3 separate regions of the Homo sapiens genome follow, and regions 2 and 3 are each linked to region 1. Evidence: promoter capture Hi-C in 16 types of primary human blood cells and fetal thymus (Javierre and others, 2016). All regions are on one chromosome and are shown on one strand. Each heading gives the region's core, a stretch centred on a gene start or on the middle of the fragment in contact. The rest is flanking DNA. Distances are from core to core; before and after follow the strand shown.

What was found. Contacts are between HindIII fragments. The CHiCAGO score rates a contact against its expected background, and 5 or more counts as called.
Region 2: a contact is called between a fragment that was not itself captured here and the fragment with the promoter of FNIP1 in region 1, in 1 of 17 cell types (neutrophils). The highest score is 5.1, in neutrophils.
Region 3: a contact is called between a fragment that was not itself captured here and the fragment with the promoter of FNIP1 in region 1, in 1 of 17 cell types (naive CD8 T cells). The highest score is 5.5, in naive CD8 T cells.

What each region holds. Positions count from the first base shown.
Region 1 is chr5:131,794,762-131,799,639 of GRCh38, forward strand. It overlaps FNIP1 (folliculin interacting protein 1), which reads right to left and starts at 2,256. Exons shown (of 18, transcript NM_133372.3): 1 at 2,069-2,256. The coding sequence starts at 2,160. RefSeq lists silencers at 1,870-2,149, 2,200-2,459. The HindIII fragment of the contact is 14,343 bases long and covers 1,591-4,878 here.
Region 2 is chr5:131,491,499-131,496,376 of GRCh38, forward strand. It overlaps RAPGEF6 (Rap guanine nucleotide exchange factor 6), which reads right to left. Exons shown (of 28, transcript NM_016340.6): 13 at 4,055-4,162; 14 at 1,084-1,287. Among named protein-coding and RNA genes, the nearest start is that of RAPGEF6, 140 kb to the right of the region's middle. The HindIII fragment of the contact is 5,618 bases long and covers 1-4,878 here.
Region 3 is chr5:132,090,231-132,095,108 of GRCh38, forward strand. No RefSeq gene overlaps it. Among named protein-coding and RNA genes, the nearest start is that of CSF2, 19 kb to the left of the region's middle. RefSeq lists an enhancer at 3,918-4,878. The HindIII fragment of the contact is 153 bases long and covers 2,443-2,595 here.

The sequences.
Region 1 (4,878 bases), core at 1,006-3,505:
ACTACAGCCTGTTGACAGAGTGAGAAAAAAAGGAACTAATAAATGCAACAAACAAGACAGACACAAGACTATGACAGAAAGTATCAGTGACTGCCACGGGTGAGGAGGAGTTAGGCTACAACAGAGCATGAGGGAACTTTTTGGGTGATGGAAGTGTTCTAAAACTTCATGGGGGTGGTGGGTACACAACTGTATACGATGTATGCTTAAAATGTATTTATACTTTATTGTGTATAAATTATAGCTCAATGAAATAGTTTTTAAAAAACCCTGGGTTGATTAGATCTGTAAGTTATTAGCTATGTGACATTAACCAGAATGGTTTTTTTTCCTTCAGATATGCCTATTCTGTTTCATCAGTTTTCATTTCTCACATGCACAAGTTTTATTTTTAAAGTGAGAGATTCCATAATGTACTGCAGTTATTGGGCTTACAGATAATTCTTACTTCCACTGGCAAAAGTATATAGTTATCTGCACTGCTACTTGCTCTATCTCGTAAGATTGCTGTGAAACATCAAATAAGATAACTGATGAGAAAGTTCTTTGGTAACTGTAAAATAGTATTACGCAACTATGTAGTAGACTTTACATTTTTGAAAACCAGACGTGAAAATGTTTTTTCATATGAGTGACTTGAGAGCCTTGTAAACCTACGTACCCAAAGTCAATCTTTGTCCAGAAATAGAAAGCAGTTGTCTATTCAAATGCCACCTTTTAAATATCCTATCGGAACCTGTTTCCTATTGTCGCTTGAGTTACTAGATGGCTCAATGTAGTATTATCTAACCTGCACTTTCATTTTTCAAAGGAAAAACACTAAAGAAATGTTTAAAGAGAGACAGATGAGCATGACACATTTATTTTTCAGGGGAAAAGACAGATACGTAGAAAAACCTCTTCAATTCCATATGCATTTACTGAATTTTTCCTGATGAGACCTGCATTAGCAAGAGAGAGTGAATAATTTTAAGAATAGCAAAATTTCTTAAACCAGTGTGGCAACTTCGCCTGTTCCAAAATTTGACAGATTCTCTTTTTTTATTTTTATTTTATTTTTTTGTTTCTACTATTGTTGTACAACTGGGCTCTTTGCTATCCTACCAAGTTTAAAACGTGTGGCATTTGACATTTAGCCTAGTTATATTTGCAAGTTTCCACACTGCAATACGTATAAAGGCTGTTTGGACATAATCTCCTCAGGTGCAGTTTAACGACTAAATTTTACCTTGAATTCAGGTTTATATCAAATCTTACAATTCTGAAAAGTTACTCTGCCAGCAACAGGTACTACAATGAAAAATTAACAAAGCCTGTAACACTACAAAATGCTCTACTAACATTTTCAATTTTTAAGACTCCTTTTCAGTAACAATTCGAGGAGGAAGAATCTACAGCCAATTCCAAGGCCAGATTTCATTCAATTTGGTCTTCCTTCGGCAGTAACCCTAAACTCAAGTTTCACATTTCTCCTTCGATAACATTAAGGTCGCTCGGTCCGGTTACTGCACACCTCCAATTTTAGCGTCCAAGAAACCTGAAAGAACGGCACGTTGCCTACTCGCTCCTCCAGCCTTCTCTCAACTCAGAAGCTTGGCCAAACGTGCCGCTCTCTCCACAACGCCAACGGAGCTGGAACGCAGCGCCCGGAGGACAACTGGTCACGGGGAGGAGGGGAGAACTTCGCGGCCCGGAGTACGGCGGCTGAGGTCCAATCCAGCCCGCGCCCAACTCTACTCGGTGCCAGGAAGGCGTGTGGACCCAAAGTCTCAGGCCGCGGTGCTAGGTCCGGAGGAGCAGAGTCGCGCGTGGCTGGGGGCAGGTCGTAAACAAACCGACGGGAGGAGGGGGAAGGGGCAACGGCGAGGCGGGTGGGGTAAAATAAAAGGTAGGACCTCGCTCCAACCCTTCGGCGCTAGCCCGCAGCCGGCTCCACCCCACCGAGGACCAGATGCTGCTCTCGGCGCGGCGCTTCCGCTCGGGTCGGAACACCGAAGGCCCCAACACCCCTGGAGCCCGGAGCCCACAAGGCCATCGGCTCCGCGACCCCCGCCCCACAGCGCCCTACCTGAACCCGCAATCTGGGTCCCGGGCGTCGCGGCCGGGCGCGCCCAGCCCGGTCCTCTTGCTGAAGAGCTTCTGGAACAGCGTAGGGGCCATGCTAGCCACGGCCAGGCAGGGGTCGCTCCGCTGGGCGCTTGCTAGGCCCCTGCTCCTACAGCCGCCCCGCCACCCCCATGGGCGCCTCAGTCATATGACAGAAATTAGTCACTTCAAACGGCCACGGCGCGCGGGGCGGGGCGCGAGGCAAGGCCGGCACTCATTGGCTGGAGGGGGGCCGCATCACGTGGCGGCGCGCGGAGCAAGGGGCAAGGTGGGGGCGTGGGGCGGAGCTGCCTCCCATAGGCTCACTGGCGGGTCCCGTCACGTGGCAGGGGCGGGGCGTGAGCCGAGAGGACAGGACTGGAAGGTGGCTAGGGATGTGTAGCGGGAGAAGGGTCAGTCTCGATCTTCCCCTGTGAAGCTGTCAGCGACCATCAGAGGGTACGCCGGGGTGGCGCGGGGACGATGCCAGGAGCCTTGGAGTGCAGAAGGCTTCGACTCCCCGCACCCACAGAGTTGCGTAGGGAACCACGGGCAACCGACTCTTCCTTGTCAGCCCCTCCCTAGCTTCTGCGGCTTCACACCTCCATTCCGCGCCGGGCAGAGTCTGGCGGCTCCTGGAGCACGGAAGGCCCACAAGCGTACCCGTGGGGCCGCGGCCAAGGCTGGACTTTGAGCCCAGGACCCCAGGACCGCCCTTAGAAGGCTGCGCCGGCCCGCGAGAGGTCTGGGATCTGGACAGCGCGGGGGCTGGCTCACAGGGACTGGTGAAGGAAACTGCCGGGACCCCTGCCACAGCCATGGCTCCCCGCAAAGACGACCTCGAGCAGGCACTGCGGGCAGTTTGTACTAGCGCCTAGAACCCTGACACCGGGAATTAGTCTCTTGGAAGAGCTAGCGATTGGAGGCTCAGGAGTTAGGCTGTTTCCTTGTTAACCAACAAAATCAGGTGAAACCAACGAAGTCAGGAAGCCTAAAGACATATATGTACAGATATCTAACCCTTTACGCTAATTATTTAGATTTTTAATAAATCTATCTTAATGTTTAGGTATGAAGACGGGAGGAACTGTGGAATTTTAGTCAAGTTACAGGGAAGAAACGCTTTCTAAAAAAAGAAAAACATTGCTCACATGTGACCTCACAGTCTTATTTAACCCATGGAACCAAAATATATCAGAGTTTGTATCAAACTAATCTTATAAATTTTCAGCAACCCCATCCATTCACTCACTCCCCCTCCAGGATGAGGAAGCTCGTACAATGGGATGTAATCCTCAGAGAAATTTAGGAAATAACTTGTATATGGTTGGAAGGCTGGATAAAAATACTTTGGGCAGGCGTGGTAGCTCACGTCTGTAATCGCAACACTGCAAGGCCGAGGCAGGCAGATCGCTTTAGCTCTGTAGTTCGAAACCAGCTTGGGCAACAGTAAGACCCTGTCTCTACAAAAAAAAAAAAAAAAAAAAAATTTTAATTAGCCAGGTGTGGCCGGGCGCTGTGGCTCACGCCTGTTATCCCAGCACTTTGGGAGGCCGAGGCGAGTGGATCACCTGAGGTCACGAGTTCAAGACCAGCCTGACCAGCATGGTGAAACCCCGTCTCCAAAAAATTAGCCGGCGTGGTGGCGGCGAATGCCTGTAATCCCAACTACCTGGGAGGCTGGGACAGGAGAATTGCTTGAACCCAGGAGGCAGAGGTTGCAGTGAGCCGAGATTGTGCCATTGCACTCCAGCCCGGGCAACAAGAGCGAGACACCGTCTCAAAAACAAACAAAAATTAGCCAGGTGTGGTCACGGCGCACACCTGTGGTCCCACTCGGGTGGCTGAGGTGGGAGGGTAGCTTGAGTGTGGGAAGTCAACGCTGCAGTGAGTGCCACTTGTACTTCAGCCTGGGCAACAGAGGGGGGCCCTATCTCAAAAAACAAATACTTTTTGAGAATTTCATTTAATTAGGTATACAAATTAAATTTTATTTTCTTTAAGTGGCTACCAACTCCCACTGATTTGCAGCTAGAGTTTATGCTCTAAATAAGGGTCTGAAGATATTTAGAAAAGAAAAAGTAATAGGCAGAATTTATATCTCTTTGAGAATTTGTCAACAACCAAAATACTGAGTTTCAATGTTCCAAGACTTTTTTAAAGCACTATTTATTGATGATTAAGATAGTAACATATTCTTTCCACAATCATTTATGTTCTAGGCAGTGGGGATCCAAAGTAAAAAAGAGCTAACTTTCTAGGTGAGGAGACAGTAAATAAGTATTTAAAGTTATTGCACTATTTATTGATGATTAAGATATTAACATATTCTTTCCACAATCATTTACGTTCTAGGCAGTGGGGATCCAAAGTACAAAAGAGCTAACTTTCTAGGTGAGGAGACAGTAAATAAGTATATAAAGTTATTTCAGATAGTAACTAATGTTGTGGAGTTAGTAAGAAATAAGCAATGAAATGAGGGTGTCAGCAAAGTCTGAGGAGGTAACATTTGAGGTGCTTAGGTTGAAAATCATTCAGTTGCTCTGTGTATTACCCAAGGTCCAGAAACTACTGGGCAATACAGGATCAAAACAGCAGTACTATTTCACCTAGACATTTCAGATAATCCTCTGGCATCAAATGCTGAAAGATTTCTAACAGGGTAAAATGAGCTGTGTATATTTTTCTCACAAAACATTTGAATGTAGAATGAAAAATGAAGTTTTTGTAAACAAAAAAATAAAGTCAATGCAATTTTTAAAAAGTAAACAGAAGTGTAGATCCTATCAGTCA
Region 2 (4,878 bases), core at 946-3,445, 300 kb before region 1:
CTTTGAAGTACATGAGAATCATCTAGAGCAGGGGTCCCCAACCACCAGGACACAGACCCATGGCCTGTTAGGAACTGGGCCACACAGCAGGAGGTGAGCAGTGGGCCAGTGAGCATTACCGCCTGACCTCCACCTCCTGTTAAATCAGCAGTGACATTAGATTCTCATAGGAGTGTGAACCCTGTTGAGAACTGCAAATGCAAGGGATCTAGGGCACTCCTTATGAAAATTTAATGTCTGAATGCCTGATGACCTGAGGTGGATCAGTTTCATCCAAAAACCATCTCCATCACCCCAGCCCCAACTCCCTGGTCCGTGGAAAAACTGTCTTCCATAAAACTGGTCCCTGGTGCCAAAAAGGTTGGGGACCACTGATCTAGAGAGCTTTGTTAAAAATACAGATGTTCAGACATCATTGCTTAAGAATGTGGGCAATATGACTAACAGGATTGAGAGAAGCCTGAGAATTACATTTTTTATGTAACAAAGTTGCCAGCAGATCACATTTGGAATAGGCTGCTCTATACTTACCTAATGCCTATACCAAAAAATAAAAATCACCATCAAATTCCTAAGAGTGTCTTTTTTCCTAGTCCCCCATTTGGCTCACTTTGCTTATGGATATAGTTATGTTACCATATGAACATAATTTAATGATTACCATAACCTTCAGTAATCTGCAGCCACTTACATTTGAGAGTACTATGAGGTAGAAGTGCTGTCTTCTTCAAAACCTGCAAGGGTGCTAATTCATATATTGATCGTTCTGGAGTATTCTCAAGTTGCCAGCTTATACAGTTTCCTAATCCATGAAGGATAGGCAGGCCCATTCAAAGGAGGTCATGTTGATAGAGCTCAGTAGACCATGTTATTTCTGGCCATACTACACCAAATTTTCCATTAAAAGTAATAAATATATGACAAATACTTTTAAAAATAAACCATATGCAGATACTACCTCTAAAAAAAGGCTCAGAAAAATATTTCCTTAAACTGATCATGCTTTCTGGAAGATGAGAACAAAAGCAGCAGGCATAATACTTTTAAGAAGGCTTGAATATAAGTGGTTGGTTATTTCCTTACCTGATCACCACGTTTCAGTCCTGAATCAGCAGCTTTGCTACCAGGTTCTACTCCTTCAACAAAAATACCAAATCCCTTCTCACTCCCTCCATTAAGGCTGAATTGTAGAGGGGACTCGCGGGAAGCCTTTTGCAGCACAACCTGTCTCCACTTAGCCTTTGCAGCACAGGCAATATTCAATAACCGGAGATGACCATTCATCTTCTGTTAAGCAGAAAAGGATAAATGTATATAAATGTATCTATTCCTATAGGTTTTTAAAAAGTCAACGAAAATTATTAGAATTAGAGTTATAAATATACATGTATAAGCTGAGGTAAACAAAATTGAAGAAGGGGGCACTCCCACGCCAAAGCACTCTCAACAAGATTTCTAAATATGATTATAAGACTTTTAAATTATCATAGGTAGATTTCCAAGTGATGTCTCATTTACAGAGACATGACAAAAAATTACCTATCATTTATTTATTTATTTATTTATTTATTTATTTATTTTTTTGAGACGGAGCCTCGCTCTGTCGCCCAGGCTGGAGCACAGTGGCGCGATCTCGACTCACTGCAGGCTCCACCTCCCGGGTTCATGCCATTCTCCTGCCTCAGCCTCCCGAGTAGCTGGGACTACAGGCGCCCGCCACCATGCCCGGCTAATTTTTTGTATTTTTGGTAGAGACAGGGTTTCACCATGTTAGCCACGATGGTCTTGATCTCTTGACCTCGTGATCCGCCTGTCTCGGCCTCCCAAAGTGCTGGGATTACAGGCATGAGCCACCGCGCCCGACCTACTTATCATTTCTTAAACTTTTCCTAATACACACTCTACTCCCACCTTGCTTATCTCCTGGCTGTTATATAAAACCAGAATCTTTTAAAACCTTTATTCAAAACCTTGAACAACTTGAACCACCTTTTTAAATATTGTCCAATGTTCAAAGAAACATTCAAGTTTTCATCTCGTCCAGAAAAGACTTCCTTCTTGTATTATTTTAGCTCTTCCTTAAACTCAGTAATAGTCTACCAGTTCTAATTCCAGTTTCAATTATCTCAAATAGTGTTAATATGTGCAAATCTCATGTCCATAACAAAAAGCTAAAGTTTTTTTTTTTTAAAGCAGACACCAAGTCTTACATCTGTTCTGATCCTACATTGATGTCTTTGAGTATAAAGTAGAATGCAATGAATACCTGATGGCTAACTGATTACTGGAAAAAAAAATCCCATGACTTTTTTTCCCACATTCTGATGTCCCTTGAATATTTACAAAGCCAACACAGGATGACTCAAATGATAGTGGAGTACCTCTATAACCTTTTAATCAAGTTCCCAGTGTTGTTCACTCTCCCCATTTTGTATAGAGCACATGTGCTGCCGAGAAGTCAATAGGAACCAAGGGGTAATGAAAGGGACCAAATTTGCCAATTTTTCCCACTTCATTCAACTCAATCCACTTATGCTCTGTAAGTAATTAATTACAGCTCTTGAGCATTTGCTATGTCACAGGTTTTGTGTACAGACTGTTATGCCTCTCAGCTCATTATAATCCTTACAACAATCTCAATGAACTAGGAACTACTATCTTTACAAATAACACAACTAAGGCATAAGATCAGGCAATGTCTGAGTTTACAAATCTAGCAAATGGTGGAGCTTGAGCTGTACTCCTAAAACACTATGCTGCATTACTACTTATTTCCTAAAATTTCAAGTTGCTTGAAGGAGGCAACCAAGTCACAGCTCAAAGTTTTATATCTGACAGGGAGTTTAAAATGAATTCACGAACAGCTACTGTGGACTTGGAGGGAATTATCTTAGGTGCTGTACATTTAGAACAGATGAATCCTATATAGAAAGGAAACCTAGAAAGTCAATATAGATTTGATATTTAGGATATGCACTGATAGTGAAACAGAGTTTCAATAGGTGAGGAAAAGAAAATTCTAGCATGGTCTGGATGCAGAACTGGAAAATAAAATAGTCTGATTTGGCTATAATCTAGGGTACACAGGAAAAAGGGCAAAAAGGTAGGCAAGGGACCTGAATATATGGGTGAGGAACTGCTTTGGTAGGAAGTATAGATTACTGACAAAGAAAATAATAGTCATCACATGTGTGTTTTAAAAGCAATCTTTTGGCCACACAGAATGAACTAGAAGAGAAACTAGAACTAGGGTCAGTGAGCAGATTATAATAGATCAGATATATTAAGTCCTAAACTAGGGAGTAAAAAAGAAATGGCTGAGAGAGACCATAAGAAAATATGTGAACATACATGTGTATGACTAAATCAGTGACCTAGGTGACTTTAGCAACTGACTGGAAATCCTGGCCAGGGAATTCAAGAAAAAGAGACTGAGGGTACACATATAACACCAGGTTTATAAGCCTGAGTAACTAAGAGATAAGAATGTCAATACAGAAATGGAAGATTTGGGCCAGGCGCCGTGGCTCAGACGCCTGTAATCTCAGCACTCTGGAAGGCCGAGGCGGGCGGATCACGAGGTCAGGAGTTTGAGACCAGCCTGGGCAATCTGGTGAAACCCTGTCTCTGCTAAAAATACAAAACCTAGCTGGGCGTGGTGGTGCGCGTCTGAAGTCCCATCTACTCAGGAGGTTGAGGTAGGAGAGAATTGCTTGAACCTGGAAAGCGGAGGTCGCAGTGAGCCAAGATTGCACCACTGCACTCCAGCCTGGGCGACAGCGAGACTCCGTCTCAAAAAAAAAACAAATAAATACAATAAATAAATAAATAAATATAAATAAAAAATAAATGGAAGAGTCAGGAAGGAGTGTAAATGTTGTTTTAATTGAGGTGGCAGAGAATAAATGAACAAAAGTCTAGAATACAGATTCGGAAGTTCTAAGAATGGACATTTAAGACACAGGAAAGAATGAAAGCTATTGCTGTTCTGAGTTTGCTAGTGTTGAGGGGGGACCACTACACTCTGAAGAATAGAAATTATTTTGAGCCTTACTGTATCTTCCAGATTTTTTTCAAATTCCTCTAGAAATCGAGTCATAGCAGGGTCACCTTCAAAATCATTAAAATGATTATTTACCCATAATAATACAATCCGTGTCACCTGTGGAAACATAAAAGAGGCAGCATATGGTTATAAGAGGCATTCCTTCTGCACAAGTGGATTCCAAAAGCATGTCTAAAACTCATGAAGAACTGACAACCCTCTTGTTCCCTCCCTTGTGTAAAAAAGGCTCATTCTAACAGAAAGGCATGGTTTAATTTGAGCTTTTGCTTCCCTGTGCACAGAAGTAACAGAGCCAGGACACTGTCCACTCAGTGAGAAGACACAAGCCTGTTTGTTAAGATAAAAGAAGTACACAGAATGTCTATTTCAGGTAGCACCTTAAAATGCAAACTTCATGTCATAAAGCAGGCAATCCTATCAATCAAAAATCCATACCGAAAGCGTTTCCATGGTCAAGAACATGTTTAACCAAAACGGTAACAAAAACAAATCTGAGTCTGGTGCAGTGGCTCACACCTGCAATGCCAGCAACTCAGGTGGCTGAAGCAAGGAGGATCCCTTGAGTCCAGGAGTTTGAGACCAGCCTGGGCATAGCAAAACCCTGTCTCTATAAAAATTAAAAAACAAAACAAAAACCCTTACAAATCTGAAACTTCTTTCATTATAAACACTGTAAATTTTCAAACTGCAGAATCGTTTACTTTGCTTCAGAAAAGTTAAAAATTAACGAATGTAAGCTGATTTGAATAACATGCCTAACAATGTAAGAAATGAGTCATTTTTTTTAAATCGTGGTAGAATCCACATAAAAT
Region 3 (4,878 bases), core at 1,269-3,768, 300 kb after region 1:
TTCTCCAGTGCAGATGGTATGGCCTTGTTCCAGAACCCTAGGGACAGTGTATTTTCCCAGTACAGATACCTTTAAAACCACAGTATCTGATGACTCATATGGCCCACATGGCAGGGCTACATGTACTACAGCCAAAGAGCCCTTTCCTGCCTGGGGCCCCACTCAAAGATGGCAGGCTTTTGTGTCACTGCCAGGTATATGGTTCAGAATAATATTCCCAAGTGTGTAATAGGTTTCATCCATATAGGTTGCATCCATAACCCTAAGAGGCCTGCCAAACATTCCGCTTCCTTCTTCATGGTGGGAAGTACAAGACATAGTGATTTGTCCTATACTTTGGTGGGAATTTTCTGCACGCTCCAGACTACTGGATTCCTAAAAACTTCACTGATGTGGCAGGCTGTGAATATTCATAGGGTTTATCTTCTGGAGTGCATGTGTCTTGCCATGGCCATCAATCTTGTCTGACTGGCATAATATTATCAATAGAGTAGACCAGTGTGATGTTCTGCAGGATGCCCAAGTGGTTCAGACTTCTTGGAACTATGTTATGACAGAGGGCAGGAGAGTTAACTTTGCCTTGGAAATTTGAACTGTTGTTTGTCCCAAGTGAATGCAAACAATTTCTAACAGGGGTGGAAAAGAATGGATTCACCAAATCAGCAGCTACACACTGTATGCCTGAGCCCATGTTAATCTGTTGTAGTGAAGACACATTTGGCAAGCACAGTGGCTGCAAATGGGGCTACTGTTGAATTGGTAGTAGCCTGCTGTCATCTTTCAGGATTTAACTGGGTTTTGCTGGTAAATTAAATGAAGATATGACGGACTCCCTTTTAGGTCTATAATGGTGGCAATAATTTCTGCCATTAACCCTGGAATGTGATATTGTTCTTGATTTACTATTTTGCCTGGAATGGGAAGGTTTTGAAGGCTTCCACTTGGCTTTCTTCACTATGATCACTCTCACCATGCAGGCCAAGGACCCAATGTAGGGGCTGTGCTAATTATCAAGTGTGTTGATCTGATTATATCACTGTGGGTCTGTGGACCCAGAGGACCTGCTATTAGCAGAACTCAGGCCAGGAATCTATCACCTGGCCCACATATACCCCTCATTCTAATGAGAGGATTTTGGTGCCACTTCAGGTACCTAGGTAACAATGTCAATTCTAATCCCGGGTTCAATAGTCTTTCACATGTTAGGATATTCTCTTTCCTAGTATGTAGCTATCCAAGTTAAGTGCCCACAGGTCCCCCTGGGAAAGGGCTGGGGAAATCATTATCATGCACACTTGCTGTGGTGGTGTGGGACTCTTCCTTCTGGGAGATCTGGCATCTTCTTCAATCAGTAGGTTCTAAGTCTGAAAACTGGTTCAGATCTGGAAACTCGGCAGGTTACTTTTTATTGGGGTGACTGGACTCATTATCCATGATTGATTTCTTTTTCTTGCACAGAATAACCCGCAGCACTGTTGGCTGGCCATCTATTGTGACCCTCCAGATGCTATGTTTTATTAACCATGTCCATAACTCCCCGGGAGCCAGGCCCTCTTAACAGCCATTCCAATCTTGCCACCCAGACAACTGGGCCAAGTGCTATGACTTGGCCTCTATTATCTCAGAGTCCTATCACCCCTACTGCTATCAGTGAGCCCAGTTCTGTGACATTTCCTATCAATGCTGGCCTATTTTAGCCACCATTTTAGTTCTTGGTGATACTGGTGCCCTTCTTTCCAATACATTTCTTGTTTTGGTATCTTCTTGGCCCTCAGGCGAGTATTCTGAATTTGCTTAGTATATTTATTCCTGCACACCCACGTCCTTCATAGTCTGCCATAGCCATTCTGGCTACCCTCACTTAATATGGGCCATCCTCTTTCCATGCTTCTAGGAGCCATCCAAACGATGTATTTGCACCATCTCTTGGGGCCTTGCCACAGTTTTAAATACTTTATCCTGGAAGAATGTTCCCATATCCATAAACTCTTTTGTTCAAATTTCTGTTCCACCCCCTTGGTCCAGAATCCAGTCCTGTGCATACTCTCCAAGCTCCTGCTAGTACTCTCTGGATATGACCAGAATTTCCTTTGAGGTATAGTCCTTTTCTACACTAGCAAGTTCAGCATGTCTGGCCAGGTTAGGTTTTGACTTAACCCTAGTTATTGGCCTAGCACAAAGAGGTAACATGGAATGAGAGCATGTCTTGCAGGACAGAAGCCTCCGCATTTTCTTTTTAAAGTAAGAAGCAAGTTCTAGCTTTTAACAGAGATGAGTAGGTCACTTCTGCAGGTCCAGAGTGTTTAGTGAAATCTGAGGATTCAAGATATTCAGGTGCAACAGAGGTCCTCATCCCACGTGTCAGGGTCTCATTCTTCCCCAACCAGGGCTCTGCCCTTGGCATAGAAGACCTGCCTTGGTTGGGAATATAACCTTCTTTGAAGCTTAACTACTTTGACAGAAGTCTGGGTCTGATTCTCTGCTTTTTCTTCTTTTCTATAGATGCACCAAAGAGGCCTACGGCTTTCATGCTTATGTTTTCATTGCCAATTAATCACTCTAAGCTCTCCATTTTCTTTTACTGAAAGTTAGTCAAGCTTAGCAATTCCATTGTCCTTGCAGTGGCTAATTCCCCCATATTTCTCAAACACCTGAGGCACTGCACCATCTAATGCATTCTCTTCCAACATAGGTAAAAGTTTTAACAATTATTACCATGGGCCAAAAGCTGTCTGCTTCACCTGCCACCTGTGATGGGAGTCCTCATTGGCAGCCAACAGTGGATGATCCAGCTCCAAAATCATATCTTAGCATCTCATTTTTTTTCTGTCACTCCTAAAGCCAGATGCCATAGATTAGGTTCTATAGGAAACAGACTGAGTAGGATATGAGCATGTAGGACCTTTATTAGGAAAAGATCTTGGGGTCAACATCAGTGGAAATGAGGACTGAAACAGGACTAGGCAAAAGGAGAAGTGGAGCTACTATGCAATTCCAGCCGAGGTTCCAGCTGAGACCAGGAGTGCTCATCTGTGATGATCCTTCAGAGTTTTCCCAAGAAGGAGAGGGAGCCAAGCCTTTATACCTTCATATTTATCAGTTGGTAGACGTGGGCTCCCTACAGAAGTAGGTGTGACCTTACACAAGGCAATTATTTTTTAGCAGTAGTCCAAAATAGGGCTGACAGCTGGGGCTGTCTTCTGGCAGCTCTCCCACCAGCTGGTGAAATAAATCTTTCATTCATAAAGGGGATGGGGCGGGGGGGTCTGAGCTGTGTATCACAGCATCCACAAGACCACCTTAAAAAGCCTGTACAAATCTTGTCCCTGGGCAGATGGGTCAGAGCCTGATGCTTACAAACCACGCTTCCCCCCACAACCCTGGCAACTGGGATTCTGTTGCTTTCCTATTGTGACACATAAGCCCAGGGAAGAGCCTCACTCTGCCATTCTCAGGTACTCAACTCCTCAGGAGAAATGGCTACAGGGTCCCTCTCCCCATCTAATATTGAGTACTCACTGTATCTCAGCCACCAGGTATCAGAGACACCTGTCAGGCAGCTTTTGTCCCTAGCAGTAGTGAGCAGAATCAGTATCATCTGGGTTGGGGCGGCTATAGTTTCTTGGTCAGTCTATGAAAAGAGGAGGAGTCGTTTGCCAGGTGGCAAAGGGGCAGAGAAAAACATGCTTGTGATGGGATGCCTTAAAGAAAGCCCTTCAACCAGGCCAGGTGATCTGGTAAGAGGTGTGGTGGGGATAGGCTGAAGCTAGATCAAAGAAATCTGGACCTAGTAGCTCGCATTTAGGATGGCTCCATAATCGTGGAGTTTCTCCCCAAAGAGGGGCATGCAGAAACATGTCTGGGAACACCACTAGTCTGAAGTGTTGTTTGTAGGGTGGCAGGTTAAGAAAAGGTAGGGACCCTTGTTGGAGGGTGCAGACCTTGATTTGGCCTTTAGACCGCAAGTTTGAGACCTGTAGGGTAGCCAAAGAGAGAAGTACCAAGCCCCAAGGAACTTGGAAACCTAGAAGATGGGCAGAGGAGGAGGCAGCTGTGTAAGAGGCTTGTAAGAACTGGTCACAGAGGAGAAAGAGAAACAGGAGCGGTGGCATCAAAGAAGCCATGAAAAACATAGAAGTCAGAAAATACCAATCCTGGAGGAAGCAGGTTGGTGTGGGGAAGTGACATTTGTTGGCAGGGGCCTCGGGGCAGGCCTGTGGAGGATAGGGAAATGGAACAGTCCTGGCAGTTCAGGTGGCTGGGGGCTGGGACCTTTGGACAGGCTGTATATTAAGCAGGTTTCACGCGACGCCTCCCCTTCTGAGCATTCCCCATGGCCTCGCTAGTGCAGGATGGACAGGAACTGTACTCAGGTCCAGGTGACAGCTCATGCCTGGATTTTCCCAAGGGGGCGGATCCAACCAGTCCACCAGTCCGTTCTGGCAGCTTTAAGCTCCTCTCAGACAGGGTGACATCCAACTGTTTCAAGGGCTTTCCAGTGGGCTGCACTTGTTCTGTCCCACAGGATCTATAGGGAAACCCCAGCTCTGGGCAAACAGACCCCCACCCCCTGACTAAGGCCTCCAGAATCTGGGCCAGAGGCCAGGGTGGGGCAAGACACTGAGTCAGGACAGCGGTTTTCTGGCTTCCTTAGTTTGTGTCCACAGACATCCTCACTATCCTAGGAGATGACCCCAGCAGGAATGGGGAGCTGAAGCCTGAAGAGTCACTGAAATGATTTACATAATTTCCTTAATGCTCACCACGATCATGTGAGAGAGAGAACATGACCCGTTTCACAGACGCATCACTGAAGCTGTGAGCAGAGAAACGACTTGTCTGCCAGACAGTGGCAGATACAACACTTAAACCAAAGTC